Regions from separate parts of the Homo sapiens genome. Here all the other regions are linked to region 7. Evidence: promoter capture Hi-C in 16 types of primary human blood cells and fetal thymus (Javierre and others, 2016). All regions are on one chromosome and are shown on one strand. The core of a region is centred on a gene start or on the middle of the fragment in contact, and the rest is flanking DNA. Distances in the headings are between cores, read along the strand shown. Region 1 overlaps KIF5C (kinesin family member 5C). Region 2 overlaps KIF5C (kinesin family member 5C). Region 3 overlaps KIF5C (kinesin family member 5C). Region 4 overlaps KIF5C (kinesin family member 5C). Region 5 overlaps KIF5C (kinesin family member 5C). Region 6 overlaps KIF5C (kinesin family member 5C). Region 7 holds the start of ORC4 (origin recognition complex subunit 4).

Region 1 (2,952 bases), core at 295-2,794, 960 kb before region 7:
GTACCCCAAACAGTATCTTTAGTTAAAAGCGAATGTCTGGGCTTGCCGACGCTCTCATTATCTTTGTTCCTAAGTTGATTTTCCTATATTGAACAGATACTGCCTTGATAGTATAGAAAAAGAAAAATGTTAAGGAGTTTTAACAGTAACAAGAAGTAAAGTTTATCCCAGGCAGCTGTGCCAATGTGGGTGAAACTGGAGTAGAATGGGAGGTAGAGGGCAGGAAACTCAAGCAAATGGAAGGCCTCGACTATAGCTAAGAGAGAGAGATCAACGAAATATGGTTCACCTGATTACAAAAGTGTAGATTATCTCCCTACCAAGGGAAGTGTTTGGGCAGGGGAGGTAATCATTGTCCTAAAGAGATGAAAGGGAACAAAGAGGAAGGAAATGGTTACAGAGTCCTTTATGCCTACAGAGGCCTGGGATTGAGGACAGAAACCCAGGCACCTGCTGTCATTGCACAGTGGGATCCAATCCATAGCATTTCAGCAACGAAGCAGAAAGCAACTTAAAGCACAAAAGAAAACAACACTTAAACGGTCCTCAGCAAGGGAATTATTAATTGTGCATGTTTGATAAGTTGGCTGGCTATCCTTTGCTTAGGTTCTTGTTTGTAAAATACTTGGCAACACACAATGTAGTAAAAACACTTGCTGAAGAACTGAATGCCTTTGGGGAGAGACTGAAAACAATTTGCCTCCTTTTTAGTGTATCAAACATGCTGACGCAGTACTCGGGCCCCGTTCTCTTTGCCTTCCCCTCCTCTACCTTCTAGTTTTGTTTTTGTTTGTGTATCCCTACAGGACAGCAGGAGAACATGGTGTATATCAAAGATCTGAGCAAGCTGATTGCAAAACTGAAGTAGGACTCAAACAACAGGTCACAGCATTGCTGGGTATTAGGAGGCAGAATCATCCTTGCCCAAGGCCAGGTGCAGTGGCTCACACCTGTAATCCCAGTGCTTTGGGAGCCAAGGCAGGAGCCAAGCCAGAGGCCGGGAGTTCAAGATCACCCTGACCAACATAGAGAAACTCTGTCTCAAAATATTAAAAAATTAGCTAGGTATGGTGGCACATTCTTGTAGTCTTAGCTACTTGAGAGTCTTAGGCGGGAAGATCATTTGAGCTCTGGAGGTTGCAGTGAGCCATGATTGCACCACTGCATTCCAGCCTGGACAACAGAGAGACCCTGTCTCAAAAAAATAAAAATAAAAAAGGATCATCCTTGCTTGATCACCCAACCAAAGGTCTCTGCCCTTCCAGAACGAACTGTAGCCACTGGCTACTCAATCTCAAAACATCAGGGGTTTTTGAAAGTCAGACATTTATTTTCTAAATTCAGTGATAATCAGCTTGTAAGAGGCAGTGAAGGGACATCTACCAAGAAATTTCCACATGATTCTGTAATTATGAAAAGCTTCTATGCCAATTAAATTCCTGGAACAAACATCAACAACAAAGAGTAATAGAAGAACTTTGTGGAAAAAAAAATATATTGCATTCTTTACCTCATCCTGATCCAACATCTGTTGCTTCAGCTTTTCAGCCAGCTGGCTCTGCTGGTTAATTTCATCATCCTGAAACGAAACATCATGTTTGTTTTTTTGGTTAGTTATGTCATTTTTGATATCCCAGTCTCCCAGTGACAGGCAGCTACCATAAGCTTGCTGATAAGAAGGAAGGAATAGTGTGGTGTTACTGCACAGAAAACAGACAGATTCCGAGATCTCATTCAGTTAAAATACCTCCTCACCCACCTTTCTCAGCAGATGAAACAGCTGACTATTCTGGAAATATAATATCCTGCACATTCAACCCAATTCCTGCTCATTGAGAAATCAGAGATCTACGGTTTGGGAACTGAAAGGGACGTTAGAGATATCCCTCCCAATTCAAAGATGCTAACAGTGAAATTCCTAATTCAAAAAATAAAGGAGTGAATTTCTACCTAGCTGCACTGTCATATGTTATTATCCCAAATCTTGTCAAATGCATCAGTAAGCAGGAGTGCTGCCACCAGATCGGCAGGGAGAGCCAATGTTTCCACTTCAAACCTCTCAGACCAGAGAAAAATGAACTGGAGATTTGGCATTGGAAGACCTCCCTCTCGATTGGAAGTTAATTTTCTTAACAGTTAAAAAAAAAAAAAAAAAAAAAAAAAAAACCTCAGGGCAGCTGAGGGACAGAAGCATTCATGCTTACTTTCTGGGCTGTCACTGAAGTGGGAAAGGCAAATTCGCTCTTCTCACTCTTTTTCTGCCACTAGGTGTTGCTGCCACAAAAGCAAGGGTATTCGCTGCCCACCTCTCCCCACCTCCCCTTAGACTCAGTCCACCCCCAGTGCAGGCAAAGCAGCAGGCAGATGATGCCTAACTACATAAAAAACACAGTCTTCACTGCATTATTTTCACGACTTCAAATAAAATTTGAAACATAGCCTGTGAAGATGACAACCTGGCTTCTAGGGTCTAAACACCAAACAGAGTCAGATTCAATTGAGCATCCTTGGGCACTTCTTCGTGCCAGGTCCTGTCTAGGTGTTTTCATCAGCAGCCCAGAAAAACACACCCTGTACTGTGCCTTTTGCCTTTTCCAGGGGTGAAATCTAACCCAAACTTAAGGGCCTGGGTCACAGAACCTCAATGTTCCACGGGATATTCCCCAGCCTGTTTGGTGATATCTATGCATACATTTGAATCATGTTAATTTAATGTCACAAACTAATGCTTTCCATGGAGAAAGAAAATTCTAAAATCAGCCATACAGGATCTGAATCTCCTTGTCCTTTATGTAGACCATCATTTGGCTTTGCTTTTCTACTTAAAGAGATCCTGTTTCTACTGAACCCTTTACACCAATGTTTCTTTAATGGTTCTATTTTCCTGCACAAATCATATTAGGGAAATTATACCAGAATGAAACCTCCAAAAACTGGCACTTCTACAACTAG
Region 2 (2,920 bases), core at 387-2,886, 920 kb before region 7:
CAACAACAACAAATTAACCTGATTAAAAAATAAATACAGACCTTGAATAGACATTCCTCAAAGAAGATATACAAATGGCCTATAAGCACATGAAAAGATGCTGAACATCACTAATCATTAGGGAAATGCAAATCAAAACCACAATGAAACAGCACTTCACACCATTTGGATGGCTATTATAAAAATAATAACAATAACAAGTGGCAAGGATATAGAGAAATGGAAACTCTGATGTACTGCTGTTAGGAATAGAAAATGGTACAGCTGCTATAGAAAATCGTAATAATAGCAAATAGTAGCGGTTCCTCAAGAAATTGAAAGTAGAATTACCATGAGATCCGAAAATTCCACTTCTGCATATATACTCAAAAGAATTGAAATCAAGGACTCAAATAGATGTTTGCACACCTATGTTCATAACAGCATTATTCACAACTGCCAAAATGTGGAAGCCACCCAAGCGTCCATTAATGGTTAAACGAATTTTTTAAATGTTGTATATACATACAATGGAATATTGTTCAGCCTTAAAAAGGAAGGACACTTGCTACCACATGGATGAAACTTGAAGACATTATGCTAAGTGAAATAAGTCACAAAAGGACAAACACTTTATGATTCCACTTACATGAGGTACCTAGAGCAGTCAAATTCATAGAGATAAAGTAGGTTGAGCAAGAGGAGAATAAAGAATTGGTGTTTATTGGGTACAGAGTTTTGGTTGGAGAAGATAAAGTTCTAGAGATGGAAGGTGGTGACATTGCACACATTGTGAAGGTACTTAACATCACATAAATGCACACTTTAAAATGGTTAAGATGGCAAATTTCATATTAAGTATATTTTATTGCAATAATAAAGAAAAACCTTACCAGAATGATAAGAATAATAGCAATTTTTTTTTAGATTAGCAGTTCCAAACCAAGGCATCAAAATGGATTATCAGGTATGCCATAAATAATTTGTGATTAAAAACAGCTTCAGAAACAGAGTGAATAACGTAAATGAGAGATGCTACTACTATAAGAATATCTGTCTTACATTCTTTCAGGTATGTGTGCATGTTTTAAGCAAGAGAAAAAGAAGTGGAGCTTGACCAACATTTCATCCAGGAATAGGCTCACCTATGAAAGTTGCTATATACATGAATATCATCTGATACATTGCTCAGATAGAGAAAATGTTGAGAATTACAGTTCTGGACCACAGAATCAGAGAGTCTTGGGTAGAAGAGACTTAAAGAGCCTAGACCAGTCAGGAAACCAATGCCTGAATCTCTTTTACAACATAACAGTGAACTCACTACCTCTCTAGGTAGCAGGCAGCACTTGGGGCAGCTATAAGGGTTGGAGAGTTCTCCTCACAGGGGTCGAAATCTGCCTCCCTAGAGCTCCAACAATCATGGGTATTCTAAGTATTGAGATGGAACAGAACAAGCTGACCCTCTTTCTTAGTGTCAGCACCTTCAACACGGTAAGATATATTACATTGTCCACACACCCTCCTCCAGATTTTTTTCCCTCATGCAAGCTATAAACCCTTAGTTCTCTCAGCTTCTGTTCATATGAACTCACTGTCATTTGTCCACATCCCTCTTAATAAGATAGACAACTGTCTTTTTTCACGGATCCTCTGCTGCCCAAATCCCATATGCACTGCTTCCCTGAGATGCAATGAACATACTGAGGAAGGAACTGCAGAGCCAATGAGCCGATCTGAATGTGTCTGCTAGTAACATATCGGAAGGCTTTCCCTAAAGCTCCTGGCTCTGCTTTCTGACTTCCTTCTTCCCTTTCTTTTTCTTTTTTACAGAAGGCAGAAATCCAACATGGTTTATTTCCATGTGTGTGACTGCAACATATTATAGAATTTGTTGGTTTGGAACTTTTTTTTAACCTGAACAATAACATGATCAAAATAAATAAACTGATGAGCTTACTCTTTCCCTCCCTTTGGTTGGCTGGTTGTTTATTTTTCCTAATGTTCAGGCTTAGGCTGTTATCAGGGTCCAGTAAGTCTCACCCAATATCTCCAAGACCTCAGAGTCCTGTGGACAGCAGAAGGCACCCTTTCCCATGACTGCCTAGACATACTCATAGCACACATACCCTGGCGTCTGTGTCCGAGCACTGCTCTTTAATCACCTTCCCATGCATTCTTTCATTTGTACCTAATTCCCCACCCCCCTCGGTTGGTGGGCAGATATCTGTCTCCCAAGCTGCAGGGGAGGAAACACCCCCACCATGCTTACTTGTCACAGCCACGTGTCGGTTTGCTTTGCCTTCATCTATTACATCCATGACTTCCTCAGGGCTCGACACAAACCGCTCAGTGCACCCCTGGAAGAGAATCAGTTCAGGTTCACCACTGAAAGAGTTGAAAAGCAACAATATTTTGAAAGGCTGAAACATTTTCCTGTTTATCTTCTAGAGGTGCAGATAAATAGAAAGGCTGAAATATCGATCCAACAACTTTTCCTCCTTGCCCAGGGCTTGAATTCTACATTAAAGAGAAGTCTGAGCAAGCCCTAGGAAATATAGACGTAAACCAAAAAAAGAACTGTCAAATTTTCCTAGGTTTTTGAGTACATATTCATACTGAACAGCAACACTTTAAGAAGACAGAAAATCAAAGAAGAAAATCAATGAGAGAAGAAGAAATGGATGAAGTTTTGCTTTGCCTTCTATCTTTATTTATTTATGATCATGGCCACCAATATTAGCTACTTTGATGTTCCACAGATAATGCTATAATAGGCGTTACTGCAAAGTAAAAACAGTTGCACTCAATATCAAAATCTCTTTAAATGTGAACAATATTAAATAATAATGTCATAAAGGAAAGATACAATTGAAGAAAGTAAATGTCAATTTTTAAAACCAGATGAATATTAAATATAAGGAGCCTGAATAAATGCCTA
Region 3 (2,845 bases), core at 22-2,521, 990 kb before region 7:
GGCAGCCCCCTGTGGATTTGAACCAGATAAGATCAAAGCCAGCATTATCCTGGGTTCTTTTGATTTTTGTATATTGGCATCTTCATAGGCTCTGAAACCTTGAGAATAAACCAAAATACTCATTATGGCTATAATTCTTGAACCCTGAAATGAAGCAGAAGGAAATTCCAAAGATATCCAGCTGTAAGAATATGTGCTTTGACTCCACAGGAGGGCTGGGAAGACACAATTGAGATCATTTCTACCCAGGGAAGAGATACTTCAGAATGAAAATCCCAAAGGTCAGGAAAGACTGTCTCAAAAAGGCTTTGCTCTCATCTAAGCAATGAATTCCATATTTTCAATTACTTTTCAAAAAGGATTTAGCATTTCTTTACTTTTCAATTGCAATTCCTGAATCTGTTGATTACTACCCCTTTTTAATCTCCACTGACAAATGCCCAGTCATTTCTTAAAAATAGTCATAGCTTGTAGATAAGTAAATTATATATATATGTTTTTTAGATAGGCTCTCACTTTGTCACCTAGGCTGGAGTGCAGTGGCACAATCTCGGCTCACTGCAACCTCTGCCTCCTGGGTTCAAGCAATTCTCCACTTCAACCTCCCAAGTAGCTAGGGTTACAGGTGTGCATGTCTACGCCCAGCTAATTTTTCTATTTTTAGTAGGGAAGGATGTTTCACCATGTTGGCCAGGCTGGTCTTGAACTCCTGACCTAAAGTGATCTGCCCACCTCAGCTTCCCAAAGTGCTGGGATTACAGGCATGACCCGCCATGCCCGGCCAATATTATCTTTAAAAGCCCTTATGTCAGTTCATAGCAACAACTAGGATACTCAGTTAGAAATAGGCCTTCCCTATCCAGTCGCCAGGATTTATTGCTATAGAGGAACTAAAAACCATTTAGTAACAACTATATGAATTAAAGGACACTATAAACCAACATGTATCAACTACCACCTTCTGCAGTGCTCATCTATACTAGCAGCTAACATTTTTATTGAGCAATTGTTATGGGCTTAGAAGCATGACCTCATTTAAGCCTTCTGTCAATGCCAATGACCAACATAAAAGATTTTCCCCATTTCATATATGAGGAAACAGACCTGAGTTTAAGTAACTTGAAGGAAGTGGAAGACCTAACACCTGAACCCAGGTCCCTTGTCCAATGCCAGTCCCCTCAGCCACACTGCCATCCTGAGAGCTGTAAGAGGGGGCCTGTTTATTTTGTAACCTGGTGAGAGAAGCACCTAGTTACAGAAGCTGTGTCTGAAGCTGTGTGGAGAAGGTATGTCAAGGAGGCTCTGAATTCAGATAAAACCATCAAAACCACTTGTAACACTTTGAGTAAAGAAACAAATTGCCAGCTGGGTGCAGTAGCTCACGCTTGTAATCCCAGCACTTTGGGAAGCTGAGGTGGGGGGAATCACTTGAAGTTAGGAGTTCAAGACCAGCCTGGCCAACATGGTGAAACCCTGTCTCTACTAAAAATACAAAAACTAGCTGGGCATGGTGGCACATGCCTGTAATCCCAGCTACTCGGGAGGCTGAGGCAGGAGAATCGTTTGAACCCAGGAGGCAGAGGATGCAGTGAGCCAAGATCATGCCATTGCACTCCAGCCTGGGCAACAAGAGTGAAACTCCATCTCGAAAAGATGATGATGGGTTGATGGGTGCAGCAAACCATCATGGCACATGTATACTTATGTGACAAACCTGGACATTGAGCACATGTATCCCAGAACTTAAAGTAAAATTAAAAAAAAATGCCACAATGGGTGAGGGTGGTTCTTTCACTCCGAAGGTCTTGAAAGTCTCCCCAGACCTACTGATTTTCACTCTTCTGTATGAGAAGAGGCTACACTGGTGATGAATGGCCAGCATTTGGTTGTTTGGAGCCTACATAAAATATGGGACTGGCAGACCTTTGTTGGAACCCATGAAGAAGGTGACTGTCCCACTGCACAATCTCTGGACCCCAGAATCCCTGGACCAGTATATTTAGTAAGGCCTTGCTGGGAAACACACATACACCTCTATGTGTGCTTTCATCAAATGAGGTGATGCCTATATTACATCTAGCCCAGTGCTGCAGCATATTAGGTGGTCCATAATGCACAGTATGCCAGCTGCCCACCTCAACATCCACTCTCCCTGTCCTTGCTCTAAAAGCATTACCTTTCTTTGGGGTAGTGATGTGCCCAGCTAAAAGACTACCTTTTCCAGCTAGATGTGGCCATGTGGCTCAGTGCTGTCCAGGGAAAGGGAGGCATCAGCATTGCATGGGGCTTCAGGAAGGCTACTTAAAGGAGATTCATTCAGGACGGCTGCTTTTGCCTCTTCTCTGCTTCCTCTCTGGTTGCTAAAGTTGGAATGTAGGCATGATGGCTGAAACTGAAGTCATTTGGTGACCTTGAGCTGGCCTTGAGTTCAGGAGGCAGGCACGTGCTTAACCTAGTTAAGAGGCTAGGTTTCTGTTTTCACTGTGGAGATTCTTAACTACTGATGTACCACCTTCAAATTTCCCTTACATAAGACAGACGTAAACCGCCATCCTGTATAAACCATGGAGAGTTTTCAAACTTCGATGAATATCAGAATCACCTGGAGTACTTGGTTAAAAAGACAAACAAAGCCCAGGCCCTTCCTCTTCTAAGGAGCCTGGGCCTCTGGGTGCTCAAGGATGCTCACATCCACCAAAGTTCGATGACCACTGCTTCAGGCTTTTCTGTTCTAAGCTGCCCAGCTGGATCTTAGAGTTCCCTTCAGGTATCAGCCTCGATACTGACAATATGTAGTCAAAAGCAACTTTCTAACTTCCAGTTTCATTCTATTTCTGATTGGAAG
Region 4 (2,964 bases), core at 58-2,557, 900 kb before region 7:
GGACTGATCTCTAAGATGTAAATGTAGGCTTGAGGCTACCTGTTTGGAGGAATAAATGTCAGGATCTGGGTGGGATGGTTGAAAATGGGTTAGGAGAAAGCATAATTAAGGAATGCTGAATGGCAAGACCAGCTCAATAACCAACACGGTAATGTGATTTTATGACACTGTAGAAAATTTCTAAATGGCAAAAATTTTCCATATTTAAGGCTTCTTGCTGAGAGATATTAGTAAAAGGGAGACAGACACACAGAATAAATCAACCAAAGATGTACAACTGGAGCATCAGGAATATATATTTTCTCCTTCAAAGGAAAAAGGAGGTTCCATACCTGCAGCCAGTGTTTTAAAATTATTACAGAAATAGTGTGAACACAGCTTACCTTGCTTTTAAGCTTTTGGGTGACAAAATAAAAAAGGTGGCAAAAGAAATAAAGACATGTCCTTGAAAAGGGAGAATAGAGAGATTAAATAATTTGCCTGACATCATAGCAAATCAGGGCTAGAACCGAGGCTATAGAATTCAGTGTTTCCAATTAGCAGGCCTCTGCTTACAGTCAAGGCACATTGATTCCTAGGCTGCAAATATCACTTAATGCTTTCAATTACTCTGAATGGCCCAGGAGGAAATAAAGAAATAGCACTTACCTTTGACAATTTGCTTCGCACATGCATTGTAAACCTGCTCTTGGGTCGTGTTGGGAGGTAGCACTCTGTCGAAGACATATGGCTTCCCTTGCTAAAAAAGAAAGACAAAGGGAAGAAAAAGGTGGAAAAAACACATTAGATGTTTAGGAATAAAAAATCGCAAACATTAGTAGCTAGGCCATAGGCACTAAGTCACCAACCCTGTTCTTTAAGGCAGTTCATTACCAAGAGCAGGGAATTTTTACAGCATAAACCACACATGCATTGTGTATATGTGCACTGTATGTTGAGAATCTGAGATTTTAAAAAAATTTAAATTGAACCACTTTTTAAATGAAGGGTAGGTTGAGACTCATTCATTCATTCAAACAAATATTTACTGAGCACTTACACAGAGCCTGGCACTGGGCTAGATGCTGAAAAAAAAAATCACAAAACAGTCTTGCTCTTGTGAATCATTCAATTAAGTTGAGCAGATAGCTAATAAGCAAGAAAGCAAACACATAGGAAAACGCAAAATGCCTAGGTTTAAAACAGTGGGACAGAGGGAATGCTAGAGAGGGCAAGGAAAGCCTGGTGAAGAAGGACCACTTAAGTGTATCTTTACAGGATCGGGAAGATGGAGGCTCCTGAAGAGCTGTAGAAGCGCATCCTAGGCAGAAGCCCAGCAGACAGCAAAGGGCCTGGTTTGTTCAAGGAACTGGAGGGCAAGAAAATCAGGAGCCAATTCATGCAGGGCACAGTTAGCCAAGGTGATGTGCTTAAATGTTAGCCAATGGGAAGATGGGACAAACAGATTTAAGTAGCTGCTCTTATTAGAAAGATATTATTGCTTTGTGTCCAAAAGAATTCCTGTGTTTTCTTTCTCATGCACAAGTGATGTTTTAACTGGGTTGAGGCTTCCAAGACAAAGAGAGCCCTTCTGTAGAGTAAATCAAGAGATTTCCCCAGGTGTGTGGTCTTGGGATTTGGTTTGATGCTCAAATGTGTGTGTTTCAAGGAAATAACTAGTAGAGGTAAGGGAAGAAACTCCACCGTGCATTATATGTGCCCTGACGCCCAATCACTGTATGCTTAATAAGGAGTTACTGGGCATTTAGGTGCCAGGCACAGTGCTGAGTGCTGGGGAAGTGGTGGGTGGGACAGACACAGCCCCTTCCCTAGGAGAACCCATCCTGAGGGCACCTCTTCTCTACCACCACCGCCCAGGCAGGAGGCAATCATGCTCACCCTCTTCCACAGCCGGACTCACTCAGGAGGCCCTTCATCTTCATGTTCCCCACATAGCAGAGGGGAGGGCAGAAGATGAGAGGGAGGAGAGAGCAGAGCCAAGAGCCTCCTTTTCTCCCACTGTGCCCCTCCTATGTGTGGCTCTGGACACCAGGAACCACCCAAGGACAGTGGGACTCCTCGAAAAGATAATTGCTCATGAGGGATCCAAGAGCAAGGCTTGTTACATCCTATAACCTTCACACAAAGTAAGTACACAGCTGTCAGAATGGCTTAATGTTCTACTTATTTATTACTTGGGTAGAGCTGAACTGGAGATAAAATCCTAGCCCTTAAGCTTTACTCTTTGAAAACTGGATAGCACCAGCCAGGTAAAGGAGCTACTTCCATTTGGTCTTAGAGAAATAGGGAATTTTCAGTTACTATAAAATTTTGTTTTGATGCAAAGCAGCAGAACCAGAGTCATTCTGCTAAAATTATAGAAATAGAACATTTTCTGATGTTTTGTTTGCAGTAAGTTTCCTTCAGTTAGTGAATCAAGGATTTGGTTGAATAACCAATAGACTATTCCTCACCACAGTCTATTGCCAACTATCAGCCTACTACATGCTTATTAAGCTTTATCTATTTGTAAAATTCAACTAAATGTCAGTAAGGTAAAAGGTAAGAGTAAATATTTGCAGAGTTTGTCTGGGTATTTGTTATCAATTGAACTTTCTGGAACAAAAATGTAGCTTTGCTTAATTTAAAACAAATCCCCTATTTATACAAACAATGAGAATCACCAAAGTAAAGCGTCTTGTTTACAGCTTGATCCTGCTTTGGGTTTTAGAGAAAATACACTTAATACAGCAGACAAAATGACCTGTTAAATTATAGCACATGGTACAAAAAAAAAAGGACTCCTCAGTTTTGCCCTTCTGTTTAAAATGTTTATTAGAATGCATTATGCCTTCACTTTAAGAGAAGTAGAGAGCAAGAAATCTCTATTCCTCATTTAAATAACATAATTTATCAAATGACAAACAGATAATACAGCGATTCTTCATAACCTAAAGTTAACTCCCAAACAGAAGTTGCCTTCAA
Region 5 (2,751 bases), core at 109-2,608, 940 kb before region 7:
GCTGAGCACACACCCGCCCCCCCCATCACAGCCCGTCATCACCATGCGGTGAGGAGGCCCCACAGTATTCAGATCATCCTATTTTCCAAGAAAAATCAGAAACTGTTTTTTCTTTAATTTGTGTCTCCCAGTTTTAAACTATTTATAAAAACAATGTGTGGGACAAACAAACATGCCTAATGGCCACCATTTTGCCACTTCCAGTATAAGAGATGATGCGATCTCTGGGGCACATGGCCTGGGGGGTTGAGATGCCACAGGGATGTACCTGGAGAGTAACCCAAAGGGGCAACTGTGGAGAGCAAATCAGTAGCTGCACCAAGTGATACCAAAAACAAAAGCCATGACTCAGCTCAGCATGCACAGAAACGAACACCTAAGTGGCCTTGTCCAATTAAAAAGGAAACTCCACTTAGGCTTACTTTCAAGAAGGTAAAGCTTCATTAAAAAATATGTGATATCCTGTTTTATTTGCTATTGACTTTTTCATTTTGAACTTCCAACAGTTCTTACACCGTCATATTTGCCAGCACAATCTGATTTGTGATTCGGGTTAATTACCGTTGTCAGCAAATGACATCCTGATTTCTATTTCAGTGCAAGAAATTCAGCAGTCCTCACCAGCACTACAGATGTCATTCCAAAAATTCATTGCTAAAGCAGACAACTAAATAACCCAACTGTCAAAAGAGGAGTTTAACAACTTCAATGTAAGACTCCATTTAAGAATTAGGATAACTCTCTCTTGTTCACTGTAGCTTGAGGCTGCAATCCCTAGAAGTGCTTTGAGTCTAATTTTTCAAATAACAGCAATTTTATTACTACTTTAAAGTCTGGTCCTGTTTGACACTCTCACCTCTCCTCCTGACATCCTCAGGCAGTACTGTGGATGCTTCTCAGATGCAAGCACAAACATTACAAGCATCCATTATCAACTTAGTAAGGCAAAAAGTGAAAAATAACTCATGGCTAAAATGCTTATGGACACTTAAGGGCACACTTCAAGGCTACTAATCTTACTTTTTAAATCATAAAGAGTCCCTTGATAACTTCACATGATACCAGAAAGAGAAAGCTAAAGCCTCTATGCTATACTCAGGCAGGTTTAGCCAGAGGCATATTTTGTGAGCAGACTCAGCAAGGTTATCACCATTGGTGTAACTGGTCCTCATTCTCAAAATACTTTTAACAATTGCCTAGGAAATCCCCACTTCTGTAGTAATCGGGGTCCTGGAAGGAAACAGACCACCTGCTCAAATTGCATGATTTGAAGAGTGCTTAACAAAGGTTTGGAAAGGTGTTGGGAAATAACAAGGGTTAATGTGGTACCCACATTAGGGACTGGGGAGCCATTACTACCCTTAAGCTGAAGGGGAGCCAGAGAGAGAAGGCTAGAAGGAAAAGATTGCCTGGTAGGTATGAATTGTCACAGCCATTGGTAGGGACACAGCCAACCCAAAATGATCTGGCAGGGAAGAAGCCAGGAAATAAATACCCGGACCTCACGCTCTTCTCTCCTTCTGATCGCCTGCCTGTGTTCCTTCCCCACGGGTGTAACATAACTGGAAGCCAGAGGAAAAGGAGCCCATTGCATGAGCCCAAACCAGTCACCCTCCTAAGTCACAAAGCAGGACAGAGATGGTGCAGAAAAGATCCAGAGGAGTAGCTAAAGATGCGCAACCCAACTTCCATTTGGAACTCAAATAACAGTGGGAATCTGTGTCTCACACTGGAGCCCGAGACTTCATTCAGCCCAAATGGGGCAAGCGGGGCCTTCACATCCACTAAAGGTAGAATATGAAAAAATCAGCTTACACTGAGAGAGAAAGATGTTAATTCTCCTAAAATTGCTCTAGAGAATTAAAGTAATCCCCACCTTCCCCCAAAAAAACCCTAAGGGGTTTGTGTATGTGTATAGAAATTGGCAAGCTGATTCTGAAATTTATAATAGAAATGAAAAAAAAAAGAATAGCAAGGACAGTTCTGAAGATCAAAGTTAGAGGATTGAACATCATCACTTTCTTATAAAGTAAAACTGATCAAATTGTCAGAAATCTTGGAATAAAAACAGAATAAATTGTCCAGAAACAGGCACTCAGATGACAGTCATCTGACTTATGACAAAAGTGTCCATAGAGAAGAGTGGAAAGGGCAGTCCTTTCAATACATGGCACTGAGGGGAAGTGGAACTTTATTCCTCACCCCCAATACCATGTAAAAAATTCTGTTCCAGAGAGATCCCAGACATAAATGTGAAAAGTAAAACAATAAAGCTTCCACAGAAAATATAGGACAGTATCTTCAAGACCTTGGGGTAGGCAAAGTTTTTTTTTTTTTGAGACAGAGTCTCACTCTGTTGCCCAGGCTGGAGTGCAGTGGCACAATCTCGGCTCACTGCAACCTCTGCCTCCCGGGTTCAAGTGATTCTCCTGCCTCAGCCTCCCGAGTAGCTGGGACTACAGGCGCCCGCCACCACGCCCAGCTAATTTTTTTGTATTTTTAGTAGAGACAGGGTTTCACCATGTTGGCCAGGCTGGTCTCAAAATCCTGACCTCTGGTGATCCGCCTACCTCAACCTCCCAAAGTGCTGGGATTGCAGGCATGAGCCACCATGCCTGGCCAAAGATTTCTTAAATAGAACATAAAAGAAAAAATAAATTTGACTTCATTAAAATTAAAAACTTGTCTTCATTAGAAGCCACCATTAAGACAGTTAAAAGGCAAGTTACAAGGTGGGAGAAGATATATAAA
Region 6 (2,819 bases), core at 145-2,644, 980 kb before region 7:
TATTGGGATAACAAAACCCAAGATCTGTTATCAAACCAAGTTGGCCCTAGAAGCCAATTAGCCCACCAACTAAATAAAAAGTGTTCCCTTGACCTTTTACAGCCCAGCCTGAGCTTCTCCAGCCAGGTCAGTCAGAGGGCACCAACCTCTCCCTATCCACGTAACCTCCAGATAAGCCTGTAACCTGTGTGAGCTGCACTCCCTCACATGTAAAACTGAGATAAAAGCCCCTGCCCTGCCCACTGCACAGATTTATGATGATGTCCAAAGGAGACCTTTTGGCAACAGCACTCTGAAAACAGGAAAGGGACTCCCACGACGCATGATTTTATTCTGCTGGCTGGAGCAAGGGCATGCCGTGGACGTCTTTAACTGTGGACCTTGACTCAATGAGGCTCATAGTTTGCCTACAACTAATCAAAATCCTACATCTTCTCCTGTCTCATTTTATTCACCTAAAAGTCTTACTCCACAATCAATTTTCCTTTACAGTTTAAAATGTGACCAAAAGAAAAATCTCTATGTTTGAGATAGAAACTCAAATTTGGTGTGTTCTGCGTAAAGGTTGGAGGAAGAAATCCTTAGAAGTTAACTCCGACAAAAGAGCCCATGCAGTGATTGGGGGTGCTACCCTTTCCCTCTTCATCAGGAATGGTGAAGACAAAGGTATTAACGCAACTTAACCATTCTCTACAGACATCTTGGGGTTTCTGGACTTGTTCATTTCTAAGCCAGGCTATACTCTGAGATCGACTCTGAATGCCCAACAACAGCCCCTCCCCTGTCCCTTGCCATATACGGATCTGAAGGTGACAGATTTTCCTAGAACAAGCATTTCCAATCCAAATGCATCAAATGCACACTGGGCTTGATGGAAGGGGCAGCCACACACACCTTCATTTCTTCAGCATCCTGCAACCGCGTCAGATGTTCCTTCTCCTTATCCTGGAAGCTGACTTCGTGCATTTTTTCTGTTTTGAATTTTAAATGATGATTTAAGACTTAACTGGTGGGACTCACACCCAAAAGCAAAAATTAAAAAACAAAAAGCAAGAAAAATGGCAACAGAGTGAAACATCAGCTTATATCAGCAATTACAACCATGGCATAAAGGAACAGGCAAGGACTTCTGGCTAAAGCCAAGGCTGCCCCCTCCTGAAGCATTCCTTCCACGGGGGAGCGCGACAACTGCAGGGGACAATGCTTACTGGGGGACAATGCTCACTGGGGGCGGCCCTCCTAGGACTGCACTCTGGCTTTATGTCACCGCACACCTGGGAGGGCTTGTTTCCCACCTGGTCTCTGTGAGCAGCCCAAGGTCATGTGCATGAACGGGCCTTACAGATGATAAAGCCCTCTGTGACTGTTAGGTGGCCTGTGGACCCATGCCATGATGGGAGTTCTAGGAAGACCTAATTTACCTCCCATGGGTAGGCGTTTATTCTCTAAGAATCTGGGGCAGGAAAACATACTCTGTTTCCAGGATGGGAACACGGGAAACAGAAAGATAGCATAACATTTTTGAGATTAAACCAGAAGGCCCCATGTTTGGGGCAGGGCTGCAGTGTGGCACTCCTGTCTCAGCATATGCTTGGTCGATGGTGCTCCCTAAATGCCAGCCAGGTGCAATGGGCAGCCCCAGCTGGGGAGCTGGGGTGCCAGGGGGCAGAGTGCTTTACGACAGTGACATTCAATTCATTATTTCTCTCTAGTCTGTTCCACTTCAGGTTTTCTTGCCTCTATTTTATTTCAACTCAGTGGCCCCACTGCAGGAACCACCGGATGCAAGAGAGAAACATGATTTTCCATGTGCAGTTTTGATGGTGCACCTACTCCTAACATGCCATGTGTTACCACACAAAGAACATGTTACAAGGTTAGAGCAGAGAGTGGGTATGTTCTTTCTTTTTAAATTTGCCTTGGCGTCTGACACAAATTGCATTTACTGAGCAAACTGTAAAACAACAATAAAGGATATAAATACTGATAACAGCATCACCAATCCCAACTACCCTATCACAACCACTTTTATCTTAAATATGAATTTTTAGGAACACAAGCATCCATTCACTTTTTTTTCAAGATGGAGTCTTGTTCTGTCGCCCAGGCTGGAGTGCAGTGCCACGATATCGGCTCATTACAACCTCCGCCTCCTGGATTCAAGCAATTCTCCTTCCTCAGCCTCCTGAGTAGCTGGGATTACAGGCGTGTGCCACCACACCCTGCTAATTTTTGTATTTTTAGTAGAGACAGGGTTTCACCATGTTGGCCAGGCTGGTCTCGAACTCCTGACCTCGTGATCCGCCCGCCTCAGCCTCGCAAAGTGCTGGGATTACAGGCGTGAGCCACCGTGCCCAGCTGCATCCATTCATTTTTAATAGTTATAACCATAGTAAGAATACAATGATATATTGTGATTTTCACCTAACATTGCATCATAAACATTGCTGCACACCTTCATGTATTTCATGTGAAGAAAAAGTTCTATTAAATAACACGCCATAGTGTATTAACTATTAGACATTTAGATGGCTTCCTCTTTTTTGCTGATCTAAAATTCTGCAATGAATATCTGAGGTGTGATGATCAAAAGGTATGAAAAATGTTACAGTTATTAATATGTATTTTCAAATGGCTTTCTGAGAAAATTCTAACAATTTTCATTGCAACCCATAATATATATGTTCTAGTTTCACATTGCATGGCACATACATTCTTAATCCTGTTCTACTTTCTGCATTTCTAGACCCTTCTCTTGAATTTCTGCTTATATTCATTAATATTTATGAAGTGCTTCCTATGTGCGAGGCACTTCCCTA
Region 7 (2,997 bases), core at 147-2,646:
CAATACAATCCAGATCCCGACATTTTCCCACTCAGAAACAAATGCAGTGGAGCTTTTCCTGGAGAAAAAGAGCTCTCCAATGAATTTTTTTTAAGTGACATCTAGAAAGTGTGCCTCTTTCTGTCTCTTTCCCTGGCGCCTCATTGGAGGAAGGAGGGGGTTGTTTTTGTATTCTCCCCCACTGGAGCAAGACACAATCAGATGTTAGATGGAGGAGAGAAACCACTTTTGACAACAGCAAATAAAAATAAAAGTGCCCTTCCTCCCCTGACAGGATGGGCACCCCACCTCACACACCCCTCCCTACTCCAACCCCTCCTTCACCCCCCCCAGCACCACCCCCTCCTCACCCCGGAGCTCCACTGCGTATGTGGTTTGGTGCTACTGTTGCCCCGGAGTGAAAGTCAGAGCCAGAGGAAGGCAATGAAGCCCCCACAGACACACTTACCTTTCCTGCCCCCCACTTTTGAGTGCCTTCCCTGGAGCTGTGGAGGATGACACAAAGGGTAATAAAGGGGGGGAGTGGAGGAGGAGGAGGCGAAGGAGGAGGAGGAGAGCTGGGGAAGTGGCTGCTCCTGGGTGTAGTGAGATGTCTCCAGCCAGGGCCAAGCAGCAGCAGTAGCAGCAGCAGCAGTAGCAGCAGCAGCAGCAACAGCAGCAGCAGCAGCAACAGCAGCAGCAAAGGGTCTGTGTTGCTAAGAGGCTTTTGGTTTCTTTCTCTCCTCCTCTCACGGCCAAAGAGGAGGAGGGTGGAGGGAGGGAGGCGAGTTGGAGGGGTGAGGGGGTAGGAGTCGTGGATGGGGGTTTTCGAAGAAGAAGAAACTCCTTCTCCTCTCTCAGGCTCAATCCCCCTCTCAGGGCTCAGGGCTGGAGGGTGGGGGAAGGAACTCAGCCGCCTTCCCCCCACCCCCCTGAATTCAAGGTTGAAGTGGGGTAGAATTAGTGTCCTGTCCCTTTAAAAATAGAAATAAAAGGTGCCCCCCCTCTGCCACTGCCTCTCTCTTCATCATCAGCTGCTGCTGCTGCTGGGGTCTCTCTGCTTGGGGGGGAGGGGGGGTTCGGGTAGAAGAGACGGGAGGCACTCACTGCGCATGTCCCTCTCTGACGGGTGGCTGGTTGGTTGAAGGCAGGAGGAGGGGGAGGGGAGGAAATGAGCTATTTTCCCAGAAGGCGTCGAGGCGCTAGCGACCCGGAAGACATTGTAGCGGGAGGTACAGGAGCGGGGGCGGGGAGGAGGAGGAAGTCGCTACGCTTTTAACACCCCCAGCTCCCTCCTCCTTCCTAAGGGAAAGTGGAGGAACGGAAGTGGGCGTGGACGGAGACGAAAGGAGGTCACGTGTTTGGGCGGGAGAGGGGCGGGGTGGGAGAGGTAGTGCGTGCGCGGGGCATGCCGGGAGTGGTTGTGTACGGTCCGCAGCGGCAGGTGAAGTCTAGCAGAGGACGCGGCCAGGCGATTCGGTGAAGCGATTCCTGCAGGCGTTGGTTCCCCTCTTTGACCTGGTAAATGCAGGCTTTTATGCGAGAGGTAATGGTGGGGGTAAACTTGCTGCAAACGAAGGCCAGGGGCGTCGGTGGCGCAAGGTGAATCGAAAGTGGGAGGATGGAAGGCTGTGGAGATTGGGAATTGGGAAGGGGGCAGGCTTGTATAGGCCGGGAAGGCCAGGACCAGGCGAGCTCCGTCTTGTGGCCACTCCCGCCCCGTGAGCTTGCCGAGGAATCCTTGACAAGTGCAGGGATCCTGAGTCTACCTCTGCATCGGGGTAGTAGGTGAGGAGCGTGACGGTCCGAGTGTAAGAGAGAAGGGAACTGTGAAGCCTCAGCAATTGACCCTCATGACTGCAGGACGGAGGACTTCTATCTAGGGACAGAGACAAGTCCTCTGTATGCATTTTGACCAGATGCATCACACGCGTTGCTCATATTGGATATTGCGCCCTTCATGCCTTACCTCTCAACCCTCCCTGGTATTCTGGAGTGGCTTTGGGGAAGGAGCAGGCAGGGAAGTCTTGAGTGGAGCTTCCCTCCATGTCTTGCGTTGTTGCTACAACACAAAGCCTTTGCTTTTTCTCGGAGAGGGATGTGGGATTGTGTAGTCCTTAATGTTGAGTTCTACGATTGATGAAGGAGAAGGGACGTGATCAAAGTTTCCCCTTATAGTGTAGATGAGAGTTTTAAAAGGACTGTTTTGTCAAGTTTCTTTGGTTACTATTCTTAGTTTTTGAGCCTTTGGTTTCCCAAATGCCAGCTGTTTTTGCTGAAAATAATGAATTTCTATCATAAAATTAGAATTAACTCAAAATATTTAAGAAAGGATTTATAAATTTACATTAGTAAAGCTTTTATAGTGAAACAGTGCTGGTTCTTTTTCATTGTTTTCATACAATCAATATAAAGCATCACAGTCTCAATATGTTTTGTAAAGATATTTTGAAGGAATATCATCTTTGTATGTTTTTTAAAAACCAAGAATCTAAAATTCTTCGTATTTATTATGTTGGTACTTAATTCTGTTGGGTGGGTTCTTTTTGTTTGTTTTTTGTTTTGAGACGGAGTCTCGCTCTGTCTCCCAGACGAGTGCAGTGGCGCGATCTCGGCTCACTGCAACCTCTGTCTCCTGGGTTCAAGCAGTTCTCCTGCCTCACCCTCCCGAGTAGCTGAAACTACAGGCATGTGCCACCACGCCTGGCTAATTTTTTTGTGTTTTCAGTAGGGACGGGGTTTCACCATGTTGGTCAGGCTGGTCTCGATCTCTTGACCTCAAATGATCCTCCCGCCTCGGCCTCCCAAAGTGCTGGGATTACAGGCGTGAGCCACCGCGCCCGGCCGGTGTAGGTTCTTTAGGTGTACACTATCAGTTAAAGTTACTAATTTTCCACGTTTTGCTTTCTGTAAGTTTGGGCAGTGGACCCCGTTTATGCATCATTGCTTAGCCCTTAGTATCTTCTGTATTGTGTACGGTAATCATGTCCGATGGAATCAAAACTAGACTCCTGTGCT

The links. Contacts are between HindIII fragments. The CHiCAGO score rates a contact against its expected background, and 5 or more counts as called.
Region 1: a fragment that was not itself captured here is called in contact with the fragment with the promoter of ORC4 in region 7 in 4 of 17 cell types (total CD8 T cells, naive CD8 T cells, total B cells and 1 more); the score reaches 7.3 in total CD8 T cells.
Region 2: a contact is called between a fragment that was not itself captured here and the fragment with the promoter of ORC4 in region 7, in 1 of 17 cell types (naive CD8 T cells). The highest score is 7.7, in naive CD8 T cells.
Region 3: a fragment that was not itself captured here is called in contact with the fragment with the promoter of ORC4 in region 7 in 1 of 17 cell types (total CD4 T cells); the score reaches 5.8 in total CD4 T cells.
Region 4: a contact is called between a fragment that was not itself captured here and the fragment with the promoter of ORC4 in region 7, in 1 of 17 cell types (total CD4 T cells). The highest score is 5.6, in total CD4 T cells.
Region 5: a fragment that was not itself captured here is called in contact with the fragment with the promoter of ORC4 in region 7 in 2 of 17 cell types (naive CD4 T cells and naive CD8 T cells); the score reaches 7.1 in naive CD4 T cells.
Region 6: a contact is called between a fragment that was not itself captured here and the fragment with the promoter of ORC4 in region 7, in 3 of 17 cell types (total CD8 T cells, total B cells and monocytes). The highest score is 6.8, in total CD8 T cells.

What each region holds. Positions count from the first base shown.
Region 1 is chr2:148,977,549-148,980,500 of GRCh38, reverse strand. It overlaps KIF5C (kinesin family member 5C), which reads right to left. Exons shown (of 26, transcript NM_004522.3): 13 at 1,511-1,579. Among named protein-coding and RNA genes, the nearest start is that of LYPD6B, 60 kb to the left of the region's middle. The HindIII fragment of the contact is 246 bases long and covers 1,422-1,667 here.
Region 2 is chr2:148,942,092-148,945,011 of GRCh38, reverse strand. KIF5C (kinesin family member 5C) reads right to left here. Exons shown (of 26, transcript NM_004522.3): 7 at 2,252-2,339. Among named protein-coding and RNA genes, the nearest start is that of KIF5C-AS1, 49 kb to the right of the region's middle. The HindIII fragment of the contact is 3,693 bases long and covers 1-2,920 here.
Region 3 is chr2:149,012,844-149,015,688 of GRCh38, reverse strand. All of the region lies in intron 25 of KIF5C (kinesin family member 5C), which reads right to left. Among named protein-coding and RNA genes, the nearest start is that of LYPD6B, 24 kb to the left of the region's middle. The HindIII fragment of the contact is 4,420 bases long and covers 1-2,845 here.
Region 4 is chr2:148,919,912-148,922,875 of GRCh38, reverse strand. KIF5C (kinesin family member 5C) reads right to left here. Exons shown (of 26, transcript NM_004522.3): 2 at 649-739. The region is part of intron 1 of LOC101928553 (a long non-coding RNA gene); the gene reads left to right. Among named protein-coding and RNA genes, the nearest start is that of KIF5C-AS1, 26 kb to the right of the region's middle. The HindIII fragment of the contact is 1,820 bases long and covers 398-2,217 here.
Region 5 is chr2:148,958,570-148,961,320 of GRCh38, reverse strand. The region is part of intron 10 of KIF5C (kinesin family member 5C); the gene reads right to left. Among named protein-coding and RNA genes, the nearest start is that of KIF5C-AS1, 65 kb to the right of the region's middle. The HindIII fragment of the contact is 1,835 bases long and covers 441-2,275 here.
Region 6 is chr2:148,995,416-148,998,234 of GRCh38, reverse strand. KIF5C (kinesin family member 5C) reads right to left here. Exons shown (of 26, transcript NM_004522.3): 18 at 895-971. Among named protein-coding and RNA genes, the nearest start is that of LYPD6B, 42 kb to the left of the region's middle. The HindIII fragment of the contact is 5,790 bases long and covers 1-2,819 here.
Region 7 is chr2:148,019,136-148,022,132 of GRCh38, reverse strand. It overlaps ORC4 (origin recognition complex subunit 4), which reads left to right and starts at 1,396. Exons shown (of 14, transcript NM_181741.4): 1 at 1,396-1,500. It overlaps MBD5 (methyl-CpG binding domain protein 5), which reads right to left and starts at 1,042. Exons shown (of 14, transcript NM_001378120.1): 1 at 449-1,042. RefSeq lists enhancers at 875-974, 1,154-1,751 and a silencer at 1,325-1,484. The HindIII fragment of the contact is 3,631 bases long and covers 1-2,338 here.